2 separate regions of the Homo sapiens genome follow, and region 2 is linked to region 1. The links are contacts of gene promoters, found by promoter capture Hi-C in blood cells and fetal thymus (Javierre and others, 2016). All regions are on one chromosome and are shown on one strand. Each heading gives the region's core, a stretch centred on a gene start or on the middle of the fragment in contact. The rest is flanking DNA. Distances are from core to core; before and after follow the strand shown.

The links. Contacts are between HindIII fragments. The CHiCAGO score rates a contact against its expected background, and 5 or more counts as called.
Region 2: a fragment that was not itself captured here is called in contact with the fragment with the promoter of SH2D4A in region 1 in 1 of 17 cell types (non-activated CD4 T cells); the score reaches 5.1 in non-activated CD4 T cells.

The regions. Positions count from the first base shown.
Region 1 is chr8:19,312,191-19,319,682 of GRCh38, forward strand. It overlaps SH2D4A (SH2 domain containing 4A), which reads left to right and starts at 1,503. Exons shown (of 10, transcript NM_022071.4): 1 at 1,503-1,633; 2 at 7,154-7,492. The coding sequence starts at 7,358. The HindIII fragment of the contact is 8,347 bases long and covers 1-4,392 here.
Region 2 is chr8:19,824,161-19,831,652 of GRCh38, forward strand. INTS10 (integrator complex subunit 10) reads left to right here. Exons shown (of 17, transcript NM_018142.4): 8 at 643-812; 9 at 2,266-2,399; 10 at 6,246-6,399. Among named protein-coding and RNA genes, the nearest start is that of INTS10, 10 kb to the left of the region's middle. The HindIII fragment of the contact is 4,467 bases long and covers 1,872-6,338 here.

The DNA.
Region 1 (7,492 bases), core at 253-2,752:
AACCCACAGCCTAGGGTGAGATGGCAGGAATGTGGAATTCCAGTACCTTAATGTGATATGAACTGATCTGAGTGAATGTGTTTGAACACTCACCACATGCCAAGAGCTCTTCTAATCTCTTTGCATGTAGCATCTCATTTAACCCTCTTGACAACTTACCGAGGCAGACACTCTTTATCTAGAGGAGGAAAGTGAGGTACAGAGGTTAGTAGCACAGTGATAAAGCTGTTATAAGGAAGGACTTGCCAGGACCTGGAGAGAGACTGGGTGTGAGGAAGGTAGGCTGTCACAGTGTCCTGTGGGATTTTTCCTAACTGATAAACCACCCTGTATGGTTCAACTGATGCATCCATGCAGGGCTAGGATTCATTCTGACCTCGTCATAGCAGCTTTCCAGGGGCCAATCCCACTCCAGCCTAAAGCACCCCATATGCTATCATTTAAACTGCAGTAGGAACTAAGCCTTACACCAGAAATTCCTCCCTGATGGGATTCCTGGAATTGTTCCTAAATAGCTGGGTCTTATTTCCTGACAATGCCGCCTGCCCCGAGGCTTGATGTAACTCTGCACAGCTTCTGCAGTTTGGAGAGGCAGGGAAATGCCATTTTGTGTTTGAATCCAGCAGGTCAGGCTCCTAAAGAGGTCAGGTAGTCCGTGGAGAGGACTACTGGTGTTTACTGTTTATTACATCTCTCCCAATACACAAAATCTGGGGTTCACCAAAGCAGGCGGTTTTCTTCCACATGCTCCTCTAGGATGGAAAATGCCCTCCAGTGGAAATGCCTTTCCACTGTGCTTCTGCTCAATTTTCCTCCAAGATTTCCTCTAACTGTGGACTGCCAGCTCCTCCCTGACGTCTTCAGGCACCAAGCCAACCTGTTCTTGTTGCAATCCTCAAGACTCCTTTCAGCATCTTAACTTTTCCCCCAGTTTTCTTTCATTTTCTCCACCTGTCTGTGTTGACTGCGGTCTCCTTCCTTCCAGCCTTTTCCTTCCTTCATCTTGTCCTACAAAGCCACACGTGTACCGACAAGTGCCAAAGAGTTTGATCATTTACTTAATGTCAACAAAAGAAAAAAAAAAAAAGCTCCAGAGTCGCCTTGGCCTGCAGCACCCAAGCAGAGTGAACAAGTGGGGCCTGCGCACCCTCCTACCCTACACCTAGCAAGGAACCCCGAGCTCTGAAACGTGGAAAGGCCCAGATCTGCAGATTTAATCTAAGTCCTGCAGTCCCCAAGAGATCACAGACTGCAGATCCCTGTCTCATGAACTAAGAGAGGAGAGGACAAGCCTACCCCGGACTACCGCAGCTCGGGGACAGCGCGCGGGCCAGGCGGCCCGAGATGCGCAGGCCACGCAGCCTCGCCGACGAGTGGCCCTGGAGAGCCTCCAGGCGCCCGGGTGGGGCCGCGATTGCGCCCCGCCAGTCACCCCGGCATGTGGGCGCGGCGGGGCGGCGCGGGCGGGACGGCTACAAGAGCTGTTTTGCGTCCGGGCCGGAGTATTTGCTCAGCCCGCCTGCGCCGCTTGGGACGCCTCTGCCTTTCCCTCCCTCCCTTCCCCGACGGCTTCTGGCGGCCAAGTGGATGTGGCGGGTGATCGAGCCACCCTGCCCAGGGGCGCCCAGCACTGGTAGGTGCTGGGGGTGGGGCGAGGCTTTGGGGAGAGTGTGCGTGGGGTGGGAGTAGGGGGAAGGGAATTTCCTCGGAGGTTGCATGGGTGCATGGGAGGCGCAGGGGCCAGAGCGGGCGGGCGGAAGCCTCACCCCCGCCTCCACCCCTTCGCGGCGCCCGGGGCGGGCTCAGGTGCGGGGTTGGGCGGCGAGAGCGGCCGCGGCGGGTGTCCGGTGTCCGGTGTCCGGTGTCCGGTGTCTGGAGCCGCTGGCTAGGTGAGCGGCGGTCCCCGGGGCCTGGGGGCTTGCAGGGGGTGGCGGGGGAACTTCGAGGGAGAGGGTCTGCCGGGGCTGAGGACCTTCGGGGAAGTTCTGGAATCCGGCAGGGACACGCGGCGCGTGCTTCCACCCGCGGGGAGTGCAGGCCCCGGGAGGGTCCGGGCTGGCCTAGAGTTTCTAGACTCCTAGCAGGAGCACGTCCTCGACTTGCGCATGGAAATCTTCCAGGAGGGAAGTCCCGGGAAACGGTGGCAGCTGGCGCAGCACCCCCGCAGCACGTTCCCCGCGCACCGGCACCCAGGGGCGCCCCCACGTGGGGTCTGGGAGCGCGCGGAGGCCAGTGCAGCGCCGCCTCCCTCGGGCTGCAGCGGCGGGGCTGGCCCAGACCCAGACCGGGTGCCCAGTGCGCTCAGCCAAGCGGCGCCCCTGCCCGCTCCTGGACTCGGGGGTCACGCGGGCACCGGAAGGAGCTACAGTTTGTAGGTTTTCTGAGTTGTCTCTCCCTTCCCAGGGAGCTTAGAGAAGCAGCAAGCGTGGCACCTCCCCCTTTCAAACAGATGCTCCTCATCGCTCCAAAGGCTTTCGTTTGATTGCTGGTTTAATAGAAACAACGACTTGGGTACGATTATTTTAAAATAGTGAATAAATAAGTGGAAAGCATACAGGGGCATAGATTTGGCATATGAGTGGAATTCTCTATGTATACTAAATCTGTGTGTACAGTAATCTCAAATTTCTGAAGAATAGTATATATTTACAAACTGCTGTCATCTCTGGTAATTTGTTTCATCCTCAAAAACAGCCCTTTTGCTGGTAGATGAATAAGATAAAGTTTCAATAAGAAAACAAAGTTGGACCACAGAGCTGGCTGTTTTAAAAGAATTAGAATTCAAACTGTATTGTTAATGTTATAGTTACACTGTCCATACCACAATACTTTTATTTATTTTTTATTTTATTAGGTCGGTGCAAAAGTAATTGCGGTTTTTACGTAAAAAAAACCGCAGTTACTTTTTTTTTGGCCATGTAAAACACAATAACTTTTGCACCGACCTAATGTTTTTAATTTTTGAGACAGGGTCTCCTTCTGTCACCCAGGCTGTGGTGCAGTGGTGCGATCTCGGCTCACTGTAGCCTCAAACTCTCCAACTCAAGAGATCCCCCCACCTCAACCTCCCAAGTAGGTGGGACTATAGGTGCGGGCCACCACGCCTGGCTAATTTTTATACTTTATGTAGAGACGGAGTTTTGCCATGTTGCCCAAGCAGGTCTTGAACTCCTGAGCTCCAGCAATCCACCCATGTCCACCTCCCAAAGTGTTGGGATTACATGTAGAACCACTGTGCCCGCCTACTATTTTTATGATTTAGCCTGTATCTAAGGCCTTTTAAAATTGTATTTTGTTTAGGTCTCAGAGTTATTCAAAAGACAGTTGTATTGTAGAACAGTGTGAAGGTGTGAGAATCAGGCCAAATCTATGGTATCATGGAAAACAACGGATTCTCTGACCTTTTAGCAATTGGTGTTCAGAATAAATAGCAGGTGTGGGCTTGTTGCTTATCATTTCTCTCTTTTAAGAAAGGGGCTGTGTTAGCTGAGCTATTCCTTTGTTGGATCTTGAATAACCGGAGATTTGCTGCCCTTGATATAGTATGGGAAAGTCCTCTGAGTTTGAATCAGTATCAGCAATGATTACTTCCTTGTCAGGGAGTGAAAGTAGGAAAGCCCTAGTTAGTTAATTTCCTGATTTCTATTTCTTCTACCCTGGCTCCACCAGGCTCCTTCGCTTCACAGTAGATTATGTCAGATACCCACACATTAGAAGTCACAGACTGAACCAGTCCTCGTTTCACAGATGAGGAAACTGAGTCCCAAGGAGGTGAGGTGACAGCACAGAGTCACACCGCTCACTAGAGGCGGAGCTGGGAGTTGAGGCTGGAGTGCCTCTGGGTGTCTTGGGTGTACTGTGCTGAGCTTGAGTTGGGGTCTGAGAAAGCCTTGGAGCGGGGGTTAGGGGTTGGGAATTAGAGGGTGAGGGGGACAGGTGATTTACACCAGTACCATTCAGCAGTGGCAGAATGGCCACATCGTCAACGGCCTGACCACAGATAGTTGTCGGCTGGGTCCCCCAAGTATTCTTGGAGGCACAAGGAAGCCAGTGTCTTTCCTTCAAGATGAACTAGTTAATTTTAATGTTAGAAATCCACGTTTGCTATAAAAAGTAAAACAAAACAACATAAAAATGGAAATAATGTGAGAATTTCATCACAGAGGTGCCATGAACCTCCTTGCACATGTGAGAGGCTGTGCTTTTTGTGCTGTTCTTAGTGTTTGTTTGGAAGGGGAAATTGTAGAGACGAAGTGGATGACTAAGTGCAAGGGGAAATGGGACTAAGTGTCTGGTGAATACGTGGGTAAGCAATGTCCACACCTGGGTCAGTGTGACAGTCGGTTCCTTGCTGTCCTTCCTGGCTGGGGTGTGTGCACCTGGCCTCCCCTAAGCTTAGCTACAGTTGACCAGGAGGAGGCTTCTGCCCTGTGTCAAGCACCATCAGTTCAGCGTTTCTGTTGCTGCAGGAATTTGCTGGCTTCCATTCTGAAATTTCATACATGGCACCACATCCTGCTGTTCTGATTCTGGGCACACAAATAAACTCACAAAAAGGCCTCTGTGTTGTGTATTACAGTGAAGCTGAGTTAGAGCTGGACTGCCCGGCTCTGCCGCTTACCAGCTGCTGACCTGTGCTCTATCTTCCTAATCTGTGAGATGGGCATAGTGATGGGCTGGACTCCAAGGGTTATTGTGAAGATTAAGTGAGTTAACACATGTAGAGTGCTTAATTAAGATGGTGCCTGGTACAAGAAGTGTTAGCTGTGTTATCAGGAATATGCAGGGCGGGGGAGACTGGAGGAATATGACTTTGACACTTTAAGGGTTTTAGATTCTAGGATCTACCCATGCCTTGAATAGGATTCGCTGCATTCAAAATGGGGAACACAGCAGAAGTCTCAACCCCAGCTGAACTGTTCATCTTCTGCCGTGTGTGATTTCTGCGAAAACCAACCATTGAACTTAAGGACATTTACTGGAATGTCAAGGAGTCATTCTGTCTCCTTTCTTACCACTTTATCTTGGAGCTTGTGGATTTCATTGGCTCCACCCTTTGAGAAGCTGCTAGAAACAAAAAGTCAAAAGTCAAGAAATCTTGACAAGACATCCATTTTTTTTTTTTTTTTTTTTTTTGGCTGTTCAAGCCTTTAAGGGTATCTCAATGCAAAATACAAAGTTGGCAAGTGGATCTGGGAAGGGCGTGATATTACTTTTAGTCCTTTAAAATTTTTCTCTTAATGTTTGGTTCCATTTGGATTCTGGTAGTTGAATGCTGCCGAGATGATAGGTTGCAGTCAGTAGGGATAGGTGTAGTTTCATCAAGGGCCTGGCTTCACAATGAACAGTCAGCGAATCTAAGAGCTGAGTATGCACACCACTCTGTGGTAGCCTAGCTGTTGAGCGTGCTTGTCTCAAAAGACAGGTGTAAATCAAGGAACTACTTTGCACGGAAGAGGAGGAAGACGGGAAGCTGAAGGAGGCCCCCAGATGGTGAGAGGGGCATTACAAATCTAACTGTATCAATGACAAGGTGAACGAAGAGAAACCAACAACACTACGATGGTCATAATATAGCTAAGTGACTTGTCTGAAGTTTAAGACTGTTTGAACATAGTATGGAGAAACAACGTATTTGAGAGCACATGGCAAGGTGGTAAGATTATTGAGGTGTTATTATAAATAACAAATTATTGGTCAATTTCTTTTTTTTTTCTTTTTTTATTTTTGAGACAGAGTCTCCCTCTGTTGCCCAGGCTGGAGTGTAGTGGCGCGATCTCGGCTCACTGCAACCTCTGCGTCCTAGGTTCAAGCGATCTCCTGTCTCAGCCTCTTGAGTAGCTGGGATTACAGGCACCCACCACCATGCCCAGCTAATTTCTGTATTTTTTGTTTTTTTAGTAGAGATGTTGGTCATACTGGTCAGACTGGTCTCGAACTCCTGACCTCGTGATCCCCCCTCTTTGGCCTCCCAAAGTGCTGGGATTACAGGCGTGAGCCACCCCGCCTGGCCTATTGGTCAATTTCTTAGGACACATGTGATTCTGAAAAGTTGTAGTAAGTTTTTTTTCTTATATCTTATTACATCGAATCCAAAGTCTTTTGTTTTCCAGAATAGATATATTTACATAGTTTCCTGCTGATTACAAAAGTATGATGGTTTATGGGACTTAGAAATTGTTTAAAAATAGAGAGAGAAAGTATGACAGTGTGGTAATATTTTTAAGCCAATATTTTAAAATAGAAATGTGGAAAGTAGAATGAAACCTCAGTAGGATTTCCAACCACAGGAGAACTTCTAGGAGGCCACTGTGCACTCTCGCTTTATGGTTTCTCTTTCAAGGAGCCATGCGGTAAAGTCATATAAATGAAGGATCCTTTGTTATGAACCTAATGACCTCTTCATCCCCCTAGTTTATCTGGTCTGTCCATTTAGATTTTATTAAACTAGGTTATCTGGAAAAAGCACACCTAAAACTCGGTGACCTTCCAGAATGTAGATGGATGTTCTCTCTTGCACCTGCCCTGATTTTCATGGCTCTAGTAGGTTATCTGGAAATTACATTATCCTTTTGTGAAGAGGAAAGTACATAATTTTGTTTATTTAATGCTACTTTTTAGGGAAATTGCAGAAAATGCATGGTGGTCTAGTTTTTATTTCTTCCTTTTTCTTCCTTGAGCATGGCTCTATTTTGGTTTGGTTTGGGATGAGTTACTCTGTGACATATCAAAAGTGGTATTTTCTTTTGAAATAGGTACTTTGCAGAGAGCCTTTTAATTTCTTCCTGTGACTTTTTTTTTTCTTTCTTTTTTCAGCCACACAGTTGGTGGTTTGTTAGGCTCTGGGGTAATAATGTGTTTGCTTAGTTGGGAGCTGGACAAACCTCTGTGAACTTTTTTTGTTTGCCTGAGATTGACCTGTATAAAGTTAGGGTTTGTTTTCTTTTTTTTTTTGACAGAGTATCTTTAGAAATTACAGGATAGAGGTTATACAAACTCTTAACAAAGTGTGCCTCAGATTTTCTTCTTCTCTTTTCTCTCTGAACTGAAAAGTGATACTGTGTTTCCTCCTAGCTTTTTTTTTTAAACCCGTCCTAGCCAGTGTCCACACATTTTAACACGCTGCCTGAATGTGGGCTCTTTCTCTCTGCAGGTTCAGTGAACAGCATTTTGGACAGGACATTTGGTGCCAGGTCTGAGTAGCCAGTTTGCTGAATTATTGTCCCAGTCAGCCAGGATTGTGAGCTGTTTGGGAAGTTTCGTGGAAACGCCCAAGTGCCAGCACAGGTGGAGGGACACCTGGAGGCCAGTTTCAGGAACTTTTGCCACAAGTATAAAAGACTTCAGAAGTGCAAAGATGCTGAAACAGATACTGTCGGAGATGTACATAGATCCTGATCTACTGGCAGAGCTCAGCGAAGAACAGAAACAGATCCTGTTCTTCAAGATGAGAGAGGAACAGATCCGACGATGGAAAGAAAGAGAAGCAGCT
Region 2 (7,492 bases), core at 2,855-5,354, 510 kb after region 1:
GACACTCAATGCAAAAGAGGATGGTTTTTCATTTTATCAAAACATTTCTGACTGGGCACAATGGCTCACATCTGTAATCCCAGTGCTTTGGGAGGCTGAGGTGGGCAGATCACTTGAGGTCAGGAGTTCGAGACCAGCCTAGCCAACATGGTGAAACCCCATCTCTACTAAAAATACAAAAATTAGCCAGGCGAGGTGATGCGTGCCTGTAGTCCCAGCTACTCGGGAGGCTGAGGTGAGAAAATCACTTGAACCCAGGACGTGGAGGCTACGATGAGCCAAGATCACACCACTGCAATCCAGCCTGGGTGACAGAGTGAGACCCTGTCTCTAAAAAAGAAAAAAAAAAAGAAAAACAGATTTCTAACTGAAATATGAACTCTTAAGACGATGTTGTGTTTGAACGTCTCCTAGATACTTCAGAGAAAAGAGAAGCTACTTAGCATGTTTGTGTCATGAAATCTTGATCACCACCCTAATTCAGAAGGGAAAAGTTACCATTTATATTGGACAATAAAGAATAGTTTTACATGCCTAGGGCAACATTTGGTACATGTAATGGTACCACCAGAGCTTTTCTCTAGACTTCTTGCTGACCAGCCCAGAGTAATCAAATAAGTTTCATCATTCCTTCCTTTTTAGAAGCTATGGAGATATTTTGCATAGAATGAAGGATCTCTGCAGATACATGAACAACTTTGATAGTGAAGCACATGCAAAATATAAAAACCAAGTGGTGTATTCCACCATGCTGGTCTTCTTTAAGAATGCATTCCAGTATGTCAACAGCATACAGCCATCTCTCTTCCAAGGTTGGTTTACAAATTTTAGAGTGTCCAAAAAGCCAGTTCATACTGTGGGGATGGTAAGGAAAATGAAAGTGTTTATCCAGTATTGCTGGATCCGAATAACTGTGGGGCAGTACCAGTCCTTTTTATAGTTGGCGATTTAGTTTTGTTTAGTTTGGCTTAATTGGTAGTTTTTATGTAAGTATATTTCATTAAAAGTTTCTATATCAAAGGGCGTAATGGTACTGCACAACTAAAAAGAGATATCAAATGCCACTATTTTGAAAATAACAGCAGGCTGGGCGCTGTGGCTCACACCTGTAATCCCAGCACTTTGGCAGGTGAGGCCGGTGAATCACTTGAGGTCAGGAGTTTGAGACCAGCCTGGCCAATATGGTAAAACCCCATCTCTACTAAAAATACAAATATTAGCTGGGCATGATTGTAGGCACCTGTAATCCCAGCTACTTGGGAACCTGAGGCAGGAGAATCGCCTGAACCCGGGAGGCAGAGGCTGCAGTGAGCTGAGGTCGCACCTTGCACTCCAGCCTGGGTGACAGAGCAAGACTCCATCTCAAAAAAAAAAAAGAAAAAAACAGCAGATGTAACAACATATTTAAGTAGATTTCATGAAGACATCACAAGAGGCAAAGATTTATTTAGTAAAATATCCATTTTATATATAGAGAGTATATGCATAAATATACTGTAGAAAATTTGAAAAATAGAAATAAGAGTGAAATCACCCACAATCCTTCCAGTATAATACAGCGGTCGTTTTTACGTATTGCCTTATAATATTACATATATTTAGATTTTGTTTGGAATTTGTAACCATAATGTAAGTATAATTTGGTAGTCTTTTATGGTACTTTAATGACTCATGATCATTATAAAAAGTGCAGATACATAACAAATACAAAGAAGGAACCGTCACTTGTATTCTATTAGTGACAGGGAATCTTTAACAATTTGGTATATATCTGTACAGTCTTTTCTTTCTATGTGCATATACTTGTTTGTTTACCTAATTGAGATCACACTGAACGTATTTTTAATGACGTTTCTCATGACAGTTGAGTAAGCTTCTCCCTTATTTTAAGAATTCTTTTCCTAGCTGCATTTTTAAATTTTTTTTAATTTTATTTATTTTTTAAGTCTCGCTCTGTCGCCCAGGCTGGAGTGCAGTGGCGTGATCTCGGCTCACTGCAACCTCCGCCTCCTGGGTTCAAGCAATTCTCCTGCCTCAGCCTCCCGAGTAGCCGGGATTAACAGGCGCATGCTACCATGCCCGGCTAATGTTTTGTATTTTTAGTAGAGATGGGGTTTCGCCATGTTGCCCAGGCTGGTTTTGAACTCCCGAGCTCAGGCAATCCTCCTGCCTCAGCCTCCCAAAGGGCTGGGATTGCAGGCATGAGCCACCGCGCCTGGCCTCCTTGCTGCACTGGTAAGTGTTGGTGTTTTTCCCCGTCCTTAGGTCCTAATGCCCCGAGCCAAGTTCCACTGGTTCTTCTTGAAGATGTATCGAATGTGTATGGTGATGTAGAAATTGATCGTAATAAACACATCCATAAAAAGAGGAAACTAGCTGAAGGAAGAGAAAAAACCATGGTAAGGCTTTCAAATATACTTATTAACAGATTGGATGGGACGCTTTGCTAGAGATGAATCTTTGTAAAATATGGCTTTGGAGCTAAATCGATAAAGCCTGGGTTTTAAAATTGTATGATATATTAATAATTACTAAGTCAGTGGTTCTCCACTGGAGGTGATTTGCCCTCAGGGGACATTTGGCAATGTCTGGAGACATTTTTGGTTGTCACAGCTTGGTGGGGAGGGGCCAGGGTTGCTGCTGAGCACTTTACAGTGTACAGGACCACCCAAAAGGTCAGTGATGAGGTGGAGAACCCATGGTATATGTTCCTTATACATGTTTTGACTGAATGGCATCGATTCAGTTTAAACAACAAAAGCAAAATGGCATTGGACCTCTAGAGCAGGGTGCAGTGTGGGGTACTGGCCTCGGAATGGGAAGCTCTGAGGTGGGCAGGGCAGCAGGAACAGCCTATGGGCAGATGCAGAAAAGATTTCATGAAGGAGGTCAACATTTGAAATCAGTGCTGAAAGGCGAAGGGTTTTGTCAGTTGGAATTGGGAGGTAGATTTTGTTGAGAGGGAAAAGTGTGCACAAAGATGCAAGAAGCCCGAGAATGTGAAGAATCGTCAGTCCTCTAACCTGACCAGGCAGTACCCCGAGCCCGTCCCTGCCTCCCAGCCTCTGCCCGTTGAAGCTGTGCTCTGTGGTTACAGTGCTTTTCCCTTGGATCTCTGCCTGGCTAGGTCCTTGTCACTTGGTCCCAGCCCAAACGAGTCTCCCTCTGAGGCTTCTCCTGAACACCCATCTGAAGTAGCTGTCTGGTTCTCTCTTTTTATTCCTCTTTTTTAATTCTCTGCAGCATCCTCCTTGCTGTCTGTTTTTTCTTGTTTATTCACTGACTGGTTTACTGTCTCTGTCCCTCCTTCACTAGAGTACAAGCTCCGTGGGGCCTAGCATTTTCTCTGCCTCGTCCTCTACCATACCCTGGGCATCTGAGTAGTGCCTGGGCTGGAGCAGGTGTGTGGTGAGCATCTGGTGAAGGAGGGAATTCTCATTGATCCCTCCTGGGTTTGGTGTCCAGGCTATGGGATGGCTGTTTAAACCTGGTCCAGCGGTTCTTCCTTCCGGTTTTTTTTGCCTGTCAAGCACTCATCTAGCAAGCCCTGTTCTCATAACCTGGCCTTCTACCCAATGCGGAATTTCCATCCATTTTTGTTTTCATGGTCTTAACTGATTTTGTCCTGATTATCATTCTATCCCTGAGTCTGCCCCAACCTGATGCAGGTCCAGACCTTAAAGGCCCATGAGCTCAGCTCACATATATCTTGCTTTGCTCACAGTGTTTTGTTTGTTTAAATAACCTAGTATTTAAAAATTAGAAACCAGGCTGGGTGCAGTGGCTCATGCCTGTAATCCCAGCACTTTGGGGGCCAAAAGAGGAGGATCACCAGCCCAGGAGTTTAAGACCCACCTGGGCAATATAGTGAGACCCCGTCTCTATAAAAAATGAAAAAAAAAACTAGCTGGCTGGTGGCATGCACCTATCATCCCAACTGCTTCAGAGGCTGAGATGAGAAGATCCCTTGAGCTCAGGAGTTCAAGGTTCCAGTGAGTGATGACCACACCACCGCCCTCCAGCCCGAGCAACAGAGGGAGACCCCGTCTATAAAAAATAAAAAAATAAAATAGAAACCTAGCATTTCTCATAACAATCCAGATTTCTGACTTCCTTTTTGTAATTAGGATATCTGATCACACTGGCCCCTGGTGGTAACCCACAACTGGAGTTGGGGGGTGGCCCACATCAGTTCTCCAGCCAGCTGACATCACAGACTCATGTGACGTCATAAATGGCTGGTGCTGGGACAGGCCTCTCCTGTGGGCATCTGTCCCCCACCTGCTGCATTCTTGCTTCAGAGCACGCTCTCAGTGCTTCAGAGTGTACTTGCACATTTCAAAATCAGTTTCTTTAAATGTAAAAACATTTGGAACTCACACTAGTCCCACCACATCTGGGGTCCTTTCATAAATTCCTGATCTCGTGTTGAGGCAGGAATGTTTTCTGTAAGCTGCAGCACTAGCAGACGCGCCATGTGTGTTCGTGTATGATATTAGGTTGCCGTTACTTGGCAAAGAACAGGCCCCTGATGAAACAGTACCTGGCAGATACGGTTGTGGTTTTTTTTTTTTTTGGTGGAGACAAGGTCTTTCTATGTTGCCTACTCTGTTCTTGAATTCCTGGGTTCATGCAATCCTCCCACCTTGGCCTCCAAAATTGCTGGGATTACAGGGGTAAGCCACTACACCTGGCCTGGTAGACAGGTTTTGATTGGAAAAGGTGTGTTTTTCCCAATGCAAAAACATTACTTAGGGAGGATAAGAACATGCAGCAGAACAGTGGGGTAGGGAAAAGTCACCAAGAACAGGGACTAGCAGGAAGATACCAAGCTCAGAAAGTGGAAAGGAAGGTGGGCAGTGGAGGGAGGTGCTGACAGCTTCCTGCGCACCTTACCTGAGATGAGCTTGAGGATTGGAGCTTTTAGTGACAGTAGTTGCACATATTTTTATTTATTTATTTATTTTTTAGGTTTTCTTTTATCATTATTATACTTTAAGTTCTAGGGTACATGTGCACAACGTGCAGGTTTGTTACATATGTATACATGTAGTTGCACATATTTTTAAATGATCTTAGTGGAGTAAAGATCTGCAGGAAGAATTTCATTTGGGTTATTAAATCAGTAAAATGACCTAGGTGGATTAAAAGATTGAGAAAATTCTTAGCAAAATAAAATTCAGTGGAGCTGCTTTTACCTTTACATTTTTTTTTTTGGCAAAACATCTGACTCTACCCAGCGGTATTTCCAATAATTGCCTTTCTCTGTAGCCTTCTCTTTTCTGTGGGCTTTATATTACTTGAGATGAAGAGCAAGAAAAGTAGAAATGTGTATTGTAAAATACAGAGGGCTTTACTAGGTAAGTGCAGACAAATGTACTTTCTGACCAGGACCTTGCACTGGGGGAGGAGAGCGAGAGAGGGGTGACCAGTGCAGGGGAGTCATGCGCAGTGAACCAAAGATAACTAACAGTTATTCTCTGACATTATTTCTTAGAGGACGCAGGCTTTAATTTTGTTGTTGTTGAGACAGAGTCTTGCTCTGTCGCCCAGGCTGGAGTGCAGTGGTGCGGTCTCTGCTCACTGCAACCTCTGCCTCCCGGGCTTAAGAAATTCTTGTGTCTCAACCTCCTGAGTAGCTAGGATTACAGGCACGTGCCACCATGCCCGGCTGACTTTGTATTTTTAATAGAGACTGGGTTTCGCCATGTTGGCCAGGCTGGTCTCAAACTCCTGGCCTTAAGTGATCTGTCCTCCTCGGCCTCCCGAAGTGCTGGGAATATAGGCATAAGCTGCCACGCCCGGCCCCAGGCTTTAATTTTATCCCAGTACATGCCAAACCATTATTTGGAAGCCAATTAAATCATGTCACGTATTAGAAAAAAAAGTAAACTATAAACAGGTGCTGTTTAAGCTGTGTCTCTCAATGTAAAAATCTAAATTTTGACTTTCATAAAATTGATATTTTTAAACTTTGCTCTAAAACCACCATAAGCAAACATAAGAATTTAACATCAGAAAAAAAATTCACTCAATTTTAGAAGTAAAAATGGAATGTGTGAGAGTATAAAGACAAAAAAAAATTAATTTTCAAAGCTAAATTGTTAAATTCAAAAAAATTGTATGTATGTGGTATCCTTTGATATAAAATTCATATCACGGGCCAAACTGGCAGCAATAATATGTTTCCATATATGACTATATTTATAACTGAATTAACCATGTTCTCCACATTCTTTAAGCAGAGTTCAGACGATGAAGACTGTTCGGCGAAAGGAAGAAATCGTCACATTGTAGTCAATAAAGCCGAACTTGCTAACTCCACTGAAGTGTTAGAAAGCTTTAAATTGGCCAGGGAGAGCTGGGAGTTGCTCTATTCCCTAGAATTCCTTGACAAAGGTAAGAAAGCGCATGTCATTGGTGCTGTTTGATGTTTTATATAAAATCATTACGCTACTTCAAATGTCAGGTCACTTACGGCAAATTAAGTTGATTACAGTAGTTCATGCATTTTTTTTTTCTTGTTTTGAGACGGAGTCTCACTCTTTTTCACCCAGGCCGGAGTACAATGGTGTTATCTTGGCTCACTGCAACGCTCACCTCCTGGGTTCAAACAGTTCTTCTGCCTCAGCCTTCCTCGTAGCTGGGACTACAGGCACGTGCGACCATGCCCGGCTAACTTTTTGTATTTTTAGTAGAGACGGGGTTTCATCGTGTTGATCAGGCTGGTCTTGAACTCCTGACCACGTGATCCGCCCACCTTGGCCTCCCAAAGTGCTGGGATTACAGGCGTGAGCCACCATGCCCAGCCATATTGCTGTTTTTATCTGCATTAACTCCATTGTCTGAAAAACTCAAAATCCAAAAACTATAGGAAGCCTATTTTCCTTTGAGTATACTGGGTATTTTGACATTGCTTAGAAATCACTAGCTGTTTGCTAACTAAGGTATTCTTACTACACTTTGGAATCGGGGCCCCTTATTTTACTTTTAGCCCGTGGACATTCATCCCCTGGCTGCAGTCATGTGTCATACAGAGCCCTTGGCCAGATGTGCTGTGTCATCTTTTCTAAGTAAATTCAGCACCGTTCAGTTTCTCTTTGTTACATTTGGGATTGTGAACACATATGTGACAATTTTGGAGGGGATCTTTCCTTTAGTTAGAAATTGATTTTTTTAAAAATGAATAAAACCTTTTAGTGTCATTGTATGTTTGTTATTTTAATTAGGTCAAAATAAAATGGGCCAGGCAAGATGGCTCATGCCTGTAATCCCAGTGCTTTGGGAAGCTGAGGCAGGTGGATCATTGAGCTCAGGAGTTAGAGACTAACCTGGGCAATATGGCAAAACCCCGTCTCTATAAAAAAACAAAAACAAAACTTAGCCAAGAGTGATGGCATGTGTCTGTAGTGCCAGCTATTCAGGAAGCTGAGGTAGGAGGACTGCTTGAGGCCGGAAGGTTGAGGCTGCAGTGACCCATGTTAGGGCCACT